Linked DNA regions of Homo sapiens: region 2 is linked to region 1. The links are contacts of gene promoters, found by promoter capture Hi-C in blood cells and fetal thymus (Javierre and others, 2016). All regions are on one chromosome and are shown on one strand. The core of a region is centred on a gene start or on the middle of the fragment in contact, and the rest is flanking DNA. Distances in the headings are between cores, read along the strand shown.

Region 1 (7,909 bases), core at 5,410-7,909:
GAATAAAACAAATTATCTGTCCTCAAGATGCTCACATTCCAGCAGAAACACCTAGACTAAATAAAATAATTATTTGGTGGGGATGGGTAGTGATACATACTGTTGAGAAAAATAACGCATAGAAAGAGGTTAGGGAGAGATGCAAGTGGTTCAGAAGGTCTCTCAGTATGTGGCATTTGAGCAGAAATTTCAAGAGAGTCAAGGAGTGACTAGATAAAATATCTGAGGGAAGAGGGCTCCAGGGAAAGAGAAGAGCAGAAGAAAAGGCCAACAAGAAATGCAAAACAGACAGTATGGTTGAAACTGAGTGAGAGGACCTGGTGCTAGCCTTTGGATTGACAGTGAGTGAAAAGGAAGGTTTTGAGCTGTGTGATAAGATCTTTCCTGCTTTTCAAGGATCCCCTTGGCTGGTTATGGTGGCTCATGCCTGTAATCCCAACTCATGCCTGTAATCCCAAATCTTTGGGAGCTCAAGGAGGGAGGATCACTTGTGCCAGGAGTTTGAGACCAGCCTGGACAACATAGTGGGAGACCATCTCTACAAAAGATTTAAAGAATTTGCTGGGCATGTTGGCATGCACCTGTCGTCTTAGCTACTTGGGGGTTGAGATGGGAGGATTGCTTGAGCTAGGACTTCAAGGATGCAGTGAGCTGTGATCGTGCCACTGCATTCCAGCCTCAGTGATGGAACAAGATACTGTCTCAAGAAAGAAAAACAAAAAGGATCCTCTGGCTGCGTGTGGAGGGTAGAATATAGAACACAAGAGTAAGGCAGAGAGAACAGTTGAGAGGTGCTGCAAGCCACGTTGGTGGACTGGATGGCAACAGGCCGCGTGGCAAGCAAGATTTGAATTCTGGGTATATTTTGCAGGTAGAGTTAATAGGATTTGTTGATGTGCAAGAAGTAAATGAGCCACAAAAAGGATTTTTTGACCTGAGCAATAGAAGGAAAAAACTCATCATTTACTGACAAAGGGAAGGCTAAGGGGAGGCAGATTATGGAGGAGGGAGAGTTCAGTTTTAGACCTTCCAGTTTGAGATACCTAATAGATGTGTCAAGTAAGCAGTTAGGAACGATCCTCTGGAGTCCAGGGGAGAGGTGATGCTTTGTGATCAAGTCCTGTCCATTTAGTTTTCAAGGTAAAGCATCTTTCATTATGGTCTGTCCTAGGGGAAAAAGCATGGTGTGGTTAGCCTCTGCATGAGTACCCAGAAAGTCTAAATATAGGCCAAAGGCTAGAAATAAGTATAGGCTTGAAGCCCAAGGCCCTAATCTAGTGGATCACAGTCTCTGCTCAGGGCTCCAAATGGGATGTTTAGTCACAAGCTGTTTTAGGTGCTCCTGGAGAGAGTGAACTGAAGACTAACAATGAGGAAAGGGGAGACAGAGAATTCTTTAGTTCCCACCATGTTTCCCAGTTCTGACTGGTGGGAGGCTTCATTTCTAACCAGCTGAATGAGCAGTGTGAGGAGGGTAAGATCTACCAGGTCCTGGTGGGTGGAAGCATGGAGAGAGAGCTAGGGCACAACTCAAAAATAGTCTGGTGAGTGGACTAAACAGGAGGGGAATGCAACAGGAATAGAACTAGAAGAAATGTCTTCAAATTGTTGGTGGCTCACCAACTCTTCTGTATTAGAAGCTTAATGCTGGAAGATGGCTGAAGAGAAATGGTTGTTTCATTTTTTAGCCCAAATGCCAAACTTTTTAGGTACAGAAGGAGGAAATGAGATGAGGCAAGGAAAAGGGGAGAAGATGAAGGAGAGAAAGAGGGGGCAAAATTATGCAATGAGAGAGTCAGAGGCGAGCAGGAGGAAGGGGCAGTTAGAAGTAAAACAGAAGGAACAACATTATAGCACCCAGGCTGTTCATGCTGAGGGGCACCTGCAGGTCAGTGCTGGTCTGCCCTCAGCCCTCACCTCGGCCTCCCTCCTGTGCTCATTGGCGCCCAAAGTCCAGAGGGGGCCGAGGCAGCAGGGGGCTGGCATGTCAGCGCTGCCCGAGTGTGCGCACACCCGGCCGGGTTGCAGTAGCGCCGGCCTTGGCCTCAACTTTGCTCTGAGATGAGAGTGGGCACTGGGAGCAGGGAGCAGCCAGGCACTGGGAGCAGACATTTCAGAGCCCGTGGAGCAGGCACCAGGAGCGGGGAGAGACCAGGCAGCAGAACCAGGCATTTCTGAGCCTCCGCGGGCAGCGGGGTCCTTCCCAGCCCCTGGAGAGTGAAGAGATGCCTGGGTCTGCAGCCACAGCTTGAGCCGCAGTAGCTGTGCCTGGGAGGGCGGGCTCCTGGCTGCTCCTGGCCCCCAAGAGCACAGGGAGGCCTTGGTCGGCAGCCACAGCCGGGCGGCAGAGGCTGCACCCGTGAGCGCGAAGGTCCCACCCTATCAACTCAGGAGGGGGCGGGGCTTCTGCCTGTTCCTGGCTCCACTCGCTTCATGGAGCGCTGCAGCCAGCATCACGGCAGTGGCCACCCTAGACGGGCTGCTGCTGCCATCAGCACAACCACAGCGAGGGTGGGCAGCTGCTGCTTCAGCACCAGGAGCAACATGTCGCTCCGCTGCCGGCGTCGCGGGCTCCGCCGCGTCAAGCACCCCTGCAGACGCTGAATTTACCACGGCGAGTCTCTTGGCGGCTGGCTTCCTCCTCCTTCATGTCGTCTGCCCTCCGGCCCGGAGCCAAAGCTAACAGGACCAACCCAGGCAGCTGGGCCAGCCAGGAGCAAGGGCAACCGCATCTCTTGTATACCACCCCACCCTACCTGGGCCACATGGCATCACAGAGCGCCCAGGTCAGCCGCACTAGGGCATGATCAGACTCAGGGTAGAGGCACCACCCTTCAGTTGTCAGGGGCTCAGGGGAAACGGAATTGCACTCCCAGCAATGATGACTAGTTGGAGGATGAAGACACCAGTCACTGAGAGGATGAGGGCTGAGAAAGAGGGAGGTTCATGCAAATACCTGGAGCTGGGCTGGGCTGAGGGTGTCTGTGGGTCTCGTGGAATTTGGGGTACAAAGTCCTGAAGGAGTGTTCCTTTTCCCACTGGGAATACATCTCAGGATTTGAGGGCAGTGGGTTGACTCAACTTCTGTAGCAATTTGGCTCATTCCTCCTTGGATCTGGAGAGTGGAAAGTAGTTTTTCTCTTTGGAGAGAAGATACTAAAAGTTCAGAGGGTACAGCAATATTAGATTTGGCTGTGCCAAAGCAGGAGATAAGAAGAGCGCTATGGTGCCATGCATAGTCCAGGAAAAATAAATGTTATGAAGATAAATATGTCCTCCACATGGACCCTTTTATGTGTATAAAAGAATTGGCAGTTTCAGCAGTCTGTAAACTGTAAAGCTCAACAGTGACAAAAATACAAATAGCTCACATTTAATCTTAGCCTTTGTAATGGGATGCTAAGATGGAATTCAAGGTCTCAGACTGCAATGAGGTCACTAAAGGCAGAGAACCAATGTTTACAGAGAACCCCTCCTTAAAATGTTAGCACTCCCTTGCAGCACTTACAAAGGAAGGGGCTGGTGACTGTTTTTGAGAGAGTTGGCTCATTCCTTACCTAGATGATATAAGAAATTAAAGAGAGGCTGAGAGATTTATTTGGAGACGGTTATTGAAGAGCTGGGCATTGGCAGTAATTTCATTTTATTATTTTAAACAAGATCAAACCAAGAGAACCAAAAATGTTCTTGGGTCTCAAAGTGAGACCCAACATTCTAAGAGTAACCAAGAATTACAAGACCTTTCATTCCCTTGGATGAAACCACAAGGATTTTGCAGATATCTATTAAGGGACCATGAGGAAAGGATAAAGTTTGTTCTCGATGGAGTCCTGCTCTTTTGATGTGAAAGTTACACTTTCATTAATGAGTAAAGTAGCTGGAAAAGTTACACATTCATTAATGAGTAAAGTAGCTGGGACATCTTCCTTCCTACCTTACACTAGTCAGACAAGTATGTTGAGTCACTGATACCACAAATCAAAAGGAATATGCACAGGACACACTGGGCTCATCCTAAGGGTGTTCATGTTTGCACACCATGTCATTTGAGATATTTAGGCTGCAGAGGAGAAGGCTGGGCTAGTCAACAATCATCGTATACCAATAACAAACACACAAACAAGTCCCTGAGATGATTTCAGAAAGTAAGTGCCATGAAGAAGATACAATAGGGCACAGTGAGGTAGAGCATGACTGAGGAAAGGGAGCTTTCTGAATGAGGGATTTTATAGCTGAGTGGGTGATCTTATAGCCGAGATTTACAAGATGAGAAGGGAGCAAACAGATGAACAGCTGGGTGGTGGGCTGGGGGATGGGGTGGGGGCTGAGGGGAGAATTGAGTGCTCCAGAGACAAAAGAACTCCCTCTAGGATACTTGGCACACTTGAGAAATAGCAAAAAGGTGGGAGGACAAAGTGGGAAAAGTTGGGGGATGATGCCAGAGAAGAAGCCAAGGGCCCAATTAAGTAGGTCCTTGAGGCCATGATAAGGATTTTGGATTGCACCACTCACAGATTTTAAGCAAAAGATTTGATCTTTGAGGAAATTTTCCCTGCTTTGTGAGAGTACAAGTTAAAGTAGGAGGCAGATCCATTAGGAAGATGTAGCCACAGACCAGGTGAGAGATGATAGTGGTATGGTAGGCTTAAAAATAGTCCCAGAAAAGATATCTGTGTCCTAATCCCCAAAACTTGTGGAGATTACTTTATTTTATTTTAGATGGAGTCTTGCTCTGTCACTCGGGCTGGTGTGCAGTGGTGCAATTTCGGTTCACTGCAACCTCCTCCTCCTGGGTTCAAGCAATTCTTCTGCCTCAGCCTCCCGAGTAGCTGGGATTATAGGCCCATGCCACCATGCCCAGCTAATTTTTTTTGTATTTTTAGTAGAGACAGGGTTTCACCATGTTGGGCAGGCACATCTCAAACTCCTGACCTCAAGTGATCCACCCGCCTTGGCCTCCCAAAGTGCTGGGATTACAGGCGTGAGCCACCGTGTGCAGCCGATTACTTTATATGGCAAATACTTTACAGAAGAAATTGTCTTAGGATACTGAGATGGAGAGATTATTTGGATTATAAGGATGGACTCTAAATGCATTCACAAGCATCCTTGTAAGAGAGAAGCAGAGGGAGATTTGACACAGAAGGAGGCAATGTGACCTCAGAGACAGAGATTGGAGTGACGTGGCCACAAGTCAGAGAATGCTGGCCACCATTAGAAGCTAGAAGAAGCAAGGAAAGGATTCTCCCCTAGAGCCCTTACAATGGCCTGTGGCCCTGCTGATGCCTTGGCCTCCAGAACTGTGAGAAAATAAATTTGAGTAAAGGGAGCAAGTTTGTGGCTGAAAACAACACACAACACAATTTGTTACAACAATTACAGAAAATTAATACCAGTGGCTTGGAGTAGGGTTTTAGCAGTTGAGAGGGTCAGAAGTGATTGGATTTAAGATAAATTTTTGGAGACAGGACCAACAAGATTTGCTGATGTATATGGTTTAGGTATCATAAAAGGCAAAGAATCAAGGCTGATTCCCTTTTTTCTGAACAAGTGGGTGGATGATGACATAGTTTACTGGCATGGGGGAGGGTACAGGCGTTATTGTTATATGTTTGCCATATTTATGTTGGAGAAAATATCAGCTATCATGTGTCAGCGCTCTCTACATGCCAGGCACTGTCCTACATTCTTTACACGTGTTAGCTCAGTTAACACATGTAAGTCAAGCGGGCAGTAAGATATATGACTGGAGTTGAAAGAGGGCTAGGCTAGGAGCCATCAGTGTATTTAAAGCCATGGAACTAATTAGATCACCCAGGAGAACATATGCAGACGAGAGAAGATCTGGTTCAAGGCCTGAGCCAGGGCACACTTCATCTTTTGGCAGAACAGAGGGAATGGATCCAAAAAAAGGATAGAAGGAGCCAGTGAGGAGGGTGGAAAACCTGGAGCATATGAAGTCACAGAAGTAAAACTGGGGCCCAAAATGTAGAGGGAGCCATAAAGATGAGGAGGACGAGAGCTACATAGTCGCGCTCTTTCTAGGGCAGAGAGGCGGACGGAACTGACAGCTGCTATGTAGCAATATGACCGTCTCAAGTGACCTTGTGAAGCGCCACTGCAGTGGCTGGGTGGGGAGGAAAGCTCCATCAGAGCCATTTGAAGAGAAGAGGATGGGAAGTGAGCGTACACAGAGAATGCAGGCAACTTTTAGGAGGAATTCTGATGGTAATAGAAGTGGGCTGTAGCTGGTGGGACTCTGCGGTCCACAGAGGGCTCTAGCTGGACCCTCTGTGGGTCTTTCAAAGTGACTGATTCTGCATCATGTTTGCGGGTGGCAACTGTGAGGGGGAAATCGAAGGTGAATACAAAACGGGAACAAGTGAAGAGGCAACGTCCCCATACAGGCCGGGTGGGCTGGGGTTGGAGCACAGGAGGCCTGACCCTGTCTCTTCCACTTTCCCTCAAACCTTTGGTCACCAAGCGCAGACGCTCACCACAGAAGCCACCCAACCACAACTGCCGCGGGGCTCCGCGACACGCGCGGGCGACTTGAGTCGGGCAACCACGATTCCCGGCGGGCGTTGCGCGGGGCACCCAGTGCGCAGGCGCACGGCGTCGGCCTCCGACTCGCCCCTCCCTCTGGGGCGCGGGCCTCAGTTCCGGGCTACAGCAGCCGACGCCGAGAGGCACCGTTTCTTCTTAAAAGAGAAACGCTGCGCGCGCGAGGTGGGCCCCTGTCTTCCAGCAGCTCCGGGCCTGCTCGCTAGGCCCGGGAGGCGCAGGCGCAGGCGCAGTGGGGGTGAGGGCGCGTGGGGGCGCACAGGTAAGGCCGGGGTGGGGGTGGGTCGCGACGGGGGCTCTGGGCAGCCTGGGAACTGCCATTGGGATTAGTCCGCTCCACTCACTGTCAGCATTAAGTGGGGGTGCCCAAGACGGGGTGGATGGGGGGCGCCCTCCAGACCTCTGACCACGGCCTCACCGCCACTCGACCCAACTATGAAGAGCGCCCCCAGCTGCACGCCAGGACACGACCTTTCCTTCCCCTAGAAACCAGTAAAGGCCGCTGCCCTATTCAAGATGAAATGTGTGGACCGCCCCCAGCCCAGTTGAAATTTCCCGTGAAAGTCTCTCGCCCCTTCCCCACAGCTCCACTTCAGTGGACTGGAGGGCGCAGGCCTTTGTTCTGACTGCTTCTGTCTGCCTGCCTCCCACCCGACGACACTCACATGGTAGCGCTGAGCTTCAACACCCTGTATCATAGAAGGACGGGGTTTGGCTCCACACCTGCCACTGCTATTGAAATAGTTTAGTCTTGCCCCAGTTCACTGATGAGGAAACTGAGGCCCTAACGGCAGGTGGAGCCGGGTCCCCGACCCCCGAGATCGGCAGGGCGCTGAAGACGTCCCTTCCACCCTCCAGCCTCTGGTGCACATGGCTTCCTCCCCGGCGGTGGACGTGTCCTGCAGGCGGCGGGAGAAGCGGCGGCAGCTGGACGCGCGCCGCAGCAAGTGCCGCATCCGCCTGGGCGGCCACATGGAGCAGTGGTGCCTCCTCAAGGAGCGGCTGGGCTTCTCCCTGCACTCGCAGCTCGCCAAGTTCCTGTTGGACCGGTTAGGGGCCGGGAGAAGGGCTTGGGGGAGGGTACCCAGGCAGCAGCCCCTAGCCTCCTCTCCAGGGCCTGTCCTGCTGCTCTTTTCCACCCTCAGGTTTCTCACTTTACCAGGACGGCCTGTGTGACTTGTGGCCTCCGAGGGTCCTGCTCCCCTCCTCATGGTCTCAGCGAATAGCGGCCCTTAGGGCTGGCCCCTTACATGTGTGAGTGCCCAGGGCTGAGGGTGGCTGGCCACCTGAGTCCTGACCTGCCTCTTCTCCTGCTGGCAGGTACACTTCTTCAGGCTGTGTCCTC
Region 2 (7,639 bases), core at 693-3,192, 460 kb after region 1:
TGATACTGTATTACGATGATGTGCATAACAATGCCTAAGGTTGCATACCATGCTACACAGCAGTTACGCATACCATGGTCCGGTGTATGCGTGTGTGTATTACCTTAGATGCATTTAAATTTGTATTATTATTTAATGTGTCTTTGTATGGTTGGCATCACCACTACTTTCAAAACATCTTTGGTGCTGGCTGTGAGTAGCTCATGTCTTCCATTTAGCTACAAGTACGGGTTATCTACCATTTGGGTCACAAGTCACTGTCTACATCATGAGAGTATACTTGGTGTTAGTTTATCCATGTCCCAGACAAATTATAAGGGATGAAATAAAAAGGGCAACAGAAACTCAACGGAAACTACTCTTGCAAATTTAGACATAAAAATTATTCTCAATACAAGAGGCATTCAGTGTTGTAGAATTTTATTTATTTTCAATTTTAAGATGATGAGGAATTAGCATTAGGATTATGATTAGCATGACCATTAGAAATCAGTATTAGCAATTAATATTCAGAGGAAATACCACAGGGACGTAAACATTGAGCTATAATTCACTGATTATTTTTGGAAATTAGAATTTTTCATAGTTCTTCATAATTAAGAAAAACTGAGTGTGTTTTATACAATTTCAGGTTACAATAAAGAAACAAATATCCACAACAAACTTCATGGAAGTAAAGGATGATTTTTCACATTGTTTAAGGCTAAAAGTGTCCCAAGAAAGACATTTTACCAACATATTTGGGAGTAAAATTGATCAAACTAGTCTAGTGCTCCTCTAAATATTCTAAAAATATTAGCATTTGAGTCAATTGCCCAGAAAAAGAAGTTGCTATTGAGAATAATGATGATGACATCGTGGAGTTTATTTTGCAAAGTGTCATGCTAAGAAGTACTTTGTAACTATTGACTCCCTGATCTTCACAATAAAACTAAGAAGTGAGGAGCTATAAAAGCCCCTCTCACCAATGACAGCATTGAGGGTAACGTGTTGGTGGTCACGGGGTCTGTTAGTGCCAGGAGTGTTTGGACTAGATAGTCTCAATTCATTATATATTCATACACATGGCATTGTGTATATAGGAAGCTTTATATGGGAATAGCAGCTAGACATTTACTGTAATTAGCAAATAAAATGTACCAAGCATGTGAACCTGCTAAATTGTTAACAATGTAATAACTAATGTGACTAATGAAAATTAGTCATACTTGAGAGTAGATCACATAAATTATTATAATCAGGATTGCTGTTTTATGGATATAAACTATGTGTACAGATATACACACATATATAAAAATGTACACATAGATACATCATATGTATATTTTATATATATATATAATGTATATTTTGCTAATTCAGAATATTTGGTGTCAGGTTTTATACATTTTTATGATACTATGTACAATGTCATCATTACTTACAACCTCCCTCATTTTACTTTTTTTAGGTTTCATTAATGGAACCTATAAAAATATATTTCTAAAGGGAAACTCCTCTCCAGTTTATGTCGCAGCCTAAATATTAGCAGTATTTCAGCTACTTCCACACTTCCTACATTTTCGGTTTGACTTTTATCATGCGATAAGACACCAGAAACAGAGGGAAAATCATGTGCTGCTTCACAAAGTCAAACAGTGGTCTCTGCTGTCTGTTCACCCTTACTCCCATTTTATACACACACACACACACGTATATGTAATAGCACAGGGACATACATATTGAGGTATAACTCACCGATGATTTTTGGAAATTGGAATTTTTCCGTAGCTCTGGCAATTAAGAAAAACTGAGGGACTGTTTTATACAATTTCAGGTTACAGTAAAATCCACAACAAACTTCAAGAATATAAAGGATGATCTTTTATCCATTATATATATATATATAAGTATATACATTCATAATTTCCTCCCATAGATTTATATATGTATATATGTAACTCTTCTGTGGTTCTAGCTTTTTCTATGGCCAGCTAGCCCTGCAAACCTAGCAATGCAAAGGGAAATTCTAAAGTCTACTCCATTTTGCAGCCAAGTGGCCTTACTTTTCCTATCTGCATACAAAAGATCTAATTTATCAGAGAACAAGCCCTCCTCAAAGTAAATTATGATTTTAAGTAAAATGTTTTGTTAAATTTATTATCTGCTCTCTCACTAGAGTGAGCACAATAAGTAACTATACTTGTTGAATATCTCCTGGGCATAGATCATACAGCTTTGCTATGGTTTAGTACACATAAAAATAATCAGAAAATGTTTGGAATGATTCTGTGACTTTATATAGGCATTTGTTTCTGAAATGATGAAGGCAACATACAGTAAAACAAAATTTAGAATTAAATGAATTGAGTTCTTCCTCTGGTCACGACATTAATTAATTCTGTGACCTTGGATTATCTTCCTAAACACCCTGAGCCTCAGTATCTGCTTATATTAATTGATATAATAAACATTCAGGGTTACTTTAAGAATCAAATAAGAAATTTATAGTTACAGGTGCAAATATTTTATACAATACCAAGTAAAATGTAAGATATCTGCAAATTATTTCAAAACTATTGGTAAATGGGTGCAAATTCTCAATCTCTCATTTAAGCAATCTACATATTCAACTAAAATCTATGAATTTAAATTGCAAATACCTCCTGATCTTCAGAAAAGGTCTGTAAACCCAGGTGCTCCCAGTGAAGTTACATCAGCAGTTAAAGTCTATCTTTTCCCCCAAGTATCCTTTGACTTGAAAGGATTGTTACTTAGTAGAAATTCTCAGAAAAAACTGTGCATTTCAATTAAGCTTGCAGAACATCTAAATGCCTTTGAAGAGCAGAAGTATGCTTGGCCTGCAAATTTTGAGAAAATTATTTTTAAAAAGTTAGTGGATAAAATAGACATAATTTTATTGGATAAAATTGTCTTTTAGGCCTACCTAAACTATTTTTTATTGCATAATACCGTACACCAAGAGATAAATCAATGCATTTATGTTATCCTGACATTTGTAAATATTCTGTACTATTTTATAAGGCGTGCATGTTGGTTGAGTAGGGATGGCCGCAAATATTTTCCTCCCACATCACTACAGTTTGAAGGTAGGACACAATGCTTGCCCAGGACTGTGATGATCTCCAAGCCCATCCTTTAAATCAAGTGACAAGATAATTCCTAACTTGTAAGTTGCAGCCTTTGCTTGCTTCCCTATGACCACTGGTGAAGTTTCTGCCAAAGAAAAGAGCAAGCTCCATGCTCCTTCAATGCAGCAGCCTTGTTAGGAAGCTCTGCATTAGCTTAAATTAAAGCTGCTTCATGCAGGATTCTTCCTTGCCTTCTGAATCTGCTTGGAACCAGTTTTCTCTCTTTGCAACATTCAACATTTCATAATGTGAATATGACTACAAGGTTTTCTGTCCTCCTTCTCTATACCGGTCACACTTCTCCAGTTATTTTATGCATTCATGTATGAATTTTTTTCCAAAGTGCTCAACTTCCAGGTATTTACTGGGGATAGCTTTTGCAATGTCTATTTTAGAATATAATACCTCAATTTCAACAGATTACTGTAGGTGTGGTTTTTCCTGTACAGAATACACTGGCAATATTACTTTTCTGTTGTTATCGCAGACACATTGAGTCATTACATACACATTCAAACTTACAGTTACCTTTTCACATGAGAAGTTCTCAAGACAGGTCAATACAGTGCTGTGCAATTTTGAGACTAAATACAAAAATATATGTTCCTAGTTTTTCTCCGTGTTCCTAAATTCTGTTTAGTATTTCAAAAAGTTGGAATCATTAAGAATGAACTCATATTGAAATAATAATCATACAATTATTAGATAATAAAGCACTAATGTACTCTGACAATTTTAGAGTAACTTAGAACCACATTCTTCAACCCACACACACCTCCTACAAGACCCATAAAGAGACTACACACTAGAATAAACCCCTCTACTAGAGAGACCTGTTATTTCTGATGAGAGTTTATTTTATGCTTGGTGTGATGGACACTAAAAAAATGCCTGTGAATCACTGGCAAAGTGGATCTGAGAAATCCAGGTGTCTGCACATTCTTTGAAATCATTGTGGAAAAAAGGATTTTTAAAATGCTTGCACGTTTGACAGTCAGGCAACGAGTCTATGTTGGAAATTAGAATGCCTGTAGGAGTCTGCCTTACGTCAGCTCTGTGTCTTTAATGCAAGCATCTTCAACTCTCCAATCATCAGTGTTCTTATCTGTAAAACGAGGGGAAGGAGATAAAGACAATGCACTGTTCAGAGATTCAGGAAGCCTGGTTCATAGTCTGTACTTTAGAAACTAGGAGTAAGTACAGGTTTTTCCTTTAGATCTTTTGTGCCTTTCGAACAGTATTGTCCTTATCCTATCTAATTCATAAGACTAAAGTTTGCTTAAATTATTTTTTTAAGAAAAGCAGCAAACATTTAAGAAAAGATTCTTTGCACTGTTACACTCAATGGCATCCTTCTACCTGAGATTTACAACACTCACTCCATGTAATTCCCACAGATAATCAGACAGGCACTCTTTTTCTCAATGCACTTGCATTTGGCATGGAGGGAATGGGACAGTCATTCCTCATTATACTTGTGCCTGAGATTTCCAGCCCAGGAGTTGCAGACAACTCTGCCTCAACTTTCTTAGATCCAGTTTACGTAAATCTTGTTTATGTCATATAAAGAACGTAAATTCAGTCAGACCACAATGAAATGTTCTGGCAACCCGGTCATTTGCATATGCACCAAATATTTAAAGTGCTACTATGAGGAGGAGTCAGTCTAGGTGCTCATCAGCATTTGACTTCTTACCTGTGAAATTCCTGCATAATTCCAAAAGACCTGGATTTTCATTAAGGGAATAGGAAGAGTGGAACAAACAAAGTGAGTCTAAGTACAGCAGAAGCTCCTAGATGATCCATTTTAATTGCCTAATTTTACTGAGGGATGTTGCATCATTTAGACAAAACCTTAACTATTAAATCCAATTATTTAATTTTCAAAGAGCTTCATAAAGTAATGTATTCATGTGTTCTATATGTTCTCACATTTCTCATATCTCCTCTCATCCATGCAATCTGAATGCCACCCACTCAAAACAGCATGTGACACACATCACTAAGTAGACATCAAGGAATACAATATACATAATTTTCATAAAAATTATCCAAATATCTAATTTTATTCCAAACTGTATTCCAACAAAAGATGATTATCTGTCACTTACAGAGAGCTGAATCTGTCAGGATAGCCATTCAGAGTAGTAGATAGAGAAGGTTATGTATAATTTAGTAAATCAAAAACTTACTGGCAAACTACAACAACTTTATGTAACTAAACAAGCGATGAAGAACTAAGACTTTTTAGAAGGTTGAAGGTGATATTTTGCTAGAAGGAAAAATGATTAGATTTAGTAGACTTAAATTCTCATCTAACTTATACCAAGAAGAAAACACACAAAGCAATTCATAGTCATTGGTACCCACAACAGGAAATCCTTCAACATCTAGGCCATCTGGATGCCAAAGTGCTGTCAGCATGTTACCCTGAAGATCCAGTATGCATAGATTTCTAATTTGGATTTATGAACTTGGCATGACTGAAGGTATCCTTAGCAACTGATGATGGAGTTAGGACAAAGAGAGACATGCAACAAGTTTATTAGGAGCTATTTTTGTAATATAACTCTGCAGAAGGAAGTATTATTAAGCCAAACAAATAAATGCCACCTTAGAAATCCTTGAAACAATTTGCATTGCCAGGACAAATTGCATAAATTCTCCAGCCTTCTAGAAACATGTAATAATGTCTATTTCTTATCTTTACAGGGAAATATTTAGCAACTAAACAGGTCTGAAAAACTAAAAATGCAGGAAGAAAGCAGCAGACCAGTAAAGAGTGCCGAATTATTCTGGGTGTTCTGCTTTTGAGATCCCTGGAGCGACAAGGGAGCGCCCAGATTGAAAAGAGGCATGAGTTTAAATAGTTTTCTTTGAGGGACATGGAATGAAGTGCTCTGGGAAAGAGCAAGTTTCTTCCTTTTGGATCTCAGGAGACTTTAATGAGACGGACTTATTACAGCTAATGAGAAGTGTATTGATGGGGTGGAAAACAGTGAACATTTAAGTGACATGGGCTTTGAGAACATGTTTCAACTCCTGTGCTTCAAAGTGTAAAACTGATTTCCTGAGTGTTTCATCAGAAAGTTCTGCCAGCAGCTCTTCCTCACAGAGAAATGTGGGAACAAATGTGGAAAGCCATTAAAAAGATAAAAAGTAGCTTTATTTCTATTATATTTTAATAACATAACATCTGTTATGTTTGTTGGTAGTTTAATAATTATTATTTTATTTGAGCATAAAGGTAACGCATACCCATCGGGAAAAACATAATACCAGATAGGGTTATCGAAAACACATCATAGAGATGATTATCCTTACAAAATTGCATTTATACTGTATGTGTTTGTTTGTGTGTATGTTCGTGGGTATGTGTGTGTATGTACCAGTAAACTACAAGAGCTTTATGTAACTAAACAAGAGGTAGAGAACCAACAGAGAGACACATGCAGAAACTTAAACACTATAAATAGATATGGCATTTACACAACAACATATATGTGTGTGTGATGAGTGTCTGTGGGTTAACATGTAATTCCACAATTTGCATTGTTCACAAAATACAACATAAAAAGTGCCCCGATGTGAAATATTCTCCCAAACGTAGCATGCACTATCCACAAAGTACTATACTTTATGGATATGCTCAATATTATTTAATTAATGCTCCATTTTTATAACATACATACAGTTTTAATTCAGGGGACTAAAAAATAATGTGCTGATTAAATCCTTATGTCTAATTTGAGTATAGATTTTGGAAGTTTTCTTCATCGACTTTTCCTCAGTCAATATTATTTAATTCATTTGTGTGAATATTTTTAAAGTTTTGATTTTGTTAAGTTGCACCTCAAAAATATTATCATTTTTTATATTATCAATTCACATCTATATATCAATCATTTCATCTATCTATAAATAAATAAACACAAACACACAGATCTGGAAATTCTGATGTAAAAGGACTAGATTTAATGTTTTCTGTTGTTTTTCCTAGAAAGGTTAATTAATTTTTTTAACTTCAACTTTTTTTTTTTTTTTTTTTGAGACAAGAGTCTCACTCTGTCTTGCCCAGGCTGGAGTGCAGTGGCATGATCTTGGCTCACTGCAGCCTCCACCTCCAGGGTTCAAGTGATTTTCCTGTCTCAGCCTCCCGAGTAGCTGGGACTACAGGCATACACCACCACGCCTGGCTAATCTTGTATTTTCAGTAGTGATGGGGTTTCACCATGTTGGACAGGCTGGCCTCGAGCTCCTGACCTCAGGTGATCCATATGCCTTGGCCTCCCAAAGTGTGGGAATTACAGGCATGCACCACTGCACTCGGCCAACTTTTATATTTTTACTATTCATTTATTTAACTTCTTTTGAAAAAATCATTTTATTTATTTATTTATTCATTCCACTTTATTTGAGATTCATGGCGTACATGTGCCTGAGTGTATTGTGTGATGCTGAGGTTTGGATTATAAATGATCCCATCACTCAAGTAGTGAGCATGGTAC

Evidence for each region. The method cuts DNA at HindIII sites, captures the fragments that hold promoters and counts their contacts. A CHiCAGO score of 5 or more calls a contact.
Region 2: a contact is called between a fragment that was not itself captured here and the fragment with the promoter of ZNF692 in region 1, in 7 of 17 cell types (neutrophils, total CD4 T cells, naive CD8 T cells and 4 more). The highest score is 12.6, in neutrophils.

Annotation. Positions count from the first base shown.
Region 1 is chr1:248,857,835-248,865,743 of GRCh38, reverse strand. ZNF692 (zinc finger protein 692) reads left to right here and starts at 6,659. Exons shown (of 12, transcript NM_017865.4): 1 at 6,659-6,826; 2 at 7,423-7,613; 3 at 7,885-7,909. The coding sequence starts at 7,435. It overlaps ZNF692-DT (ZNF692 divergent transcript), which reads right to left and starts at 6,580. Exons shown (of 3, transcript NR_186117.1): 1 at 6,498-6,580; 2 at 2,957-3,115; 3 at 948-1,167. RefSeq lists enhancers at 1,974-2,113, 2,584-2,843, 6,175-6,324, 7,125-7,174, 7,775-7,854 and a silencer at 6,465-6,964. The HindIII fragment of the contact is 15,686 bases long and covers 1,643-7,909 here.
Region 2 is chr1:248,398,249-248,405,887 of GRCh38, reverse strand. OR2T1 (olfactory receptor family 2 subfamily T member 1) reads right to left here and starts at 2,840. Exons shown (of 2, transcript NM_030904.2): 1 at 2,643-2,840. RefSeq lists a silencer at 5,434-5,634. The HindIII fragment of the contact is 1,708 bases long and covers 1,089-2,796 here.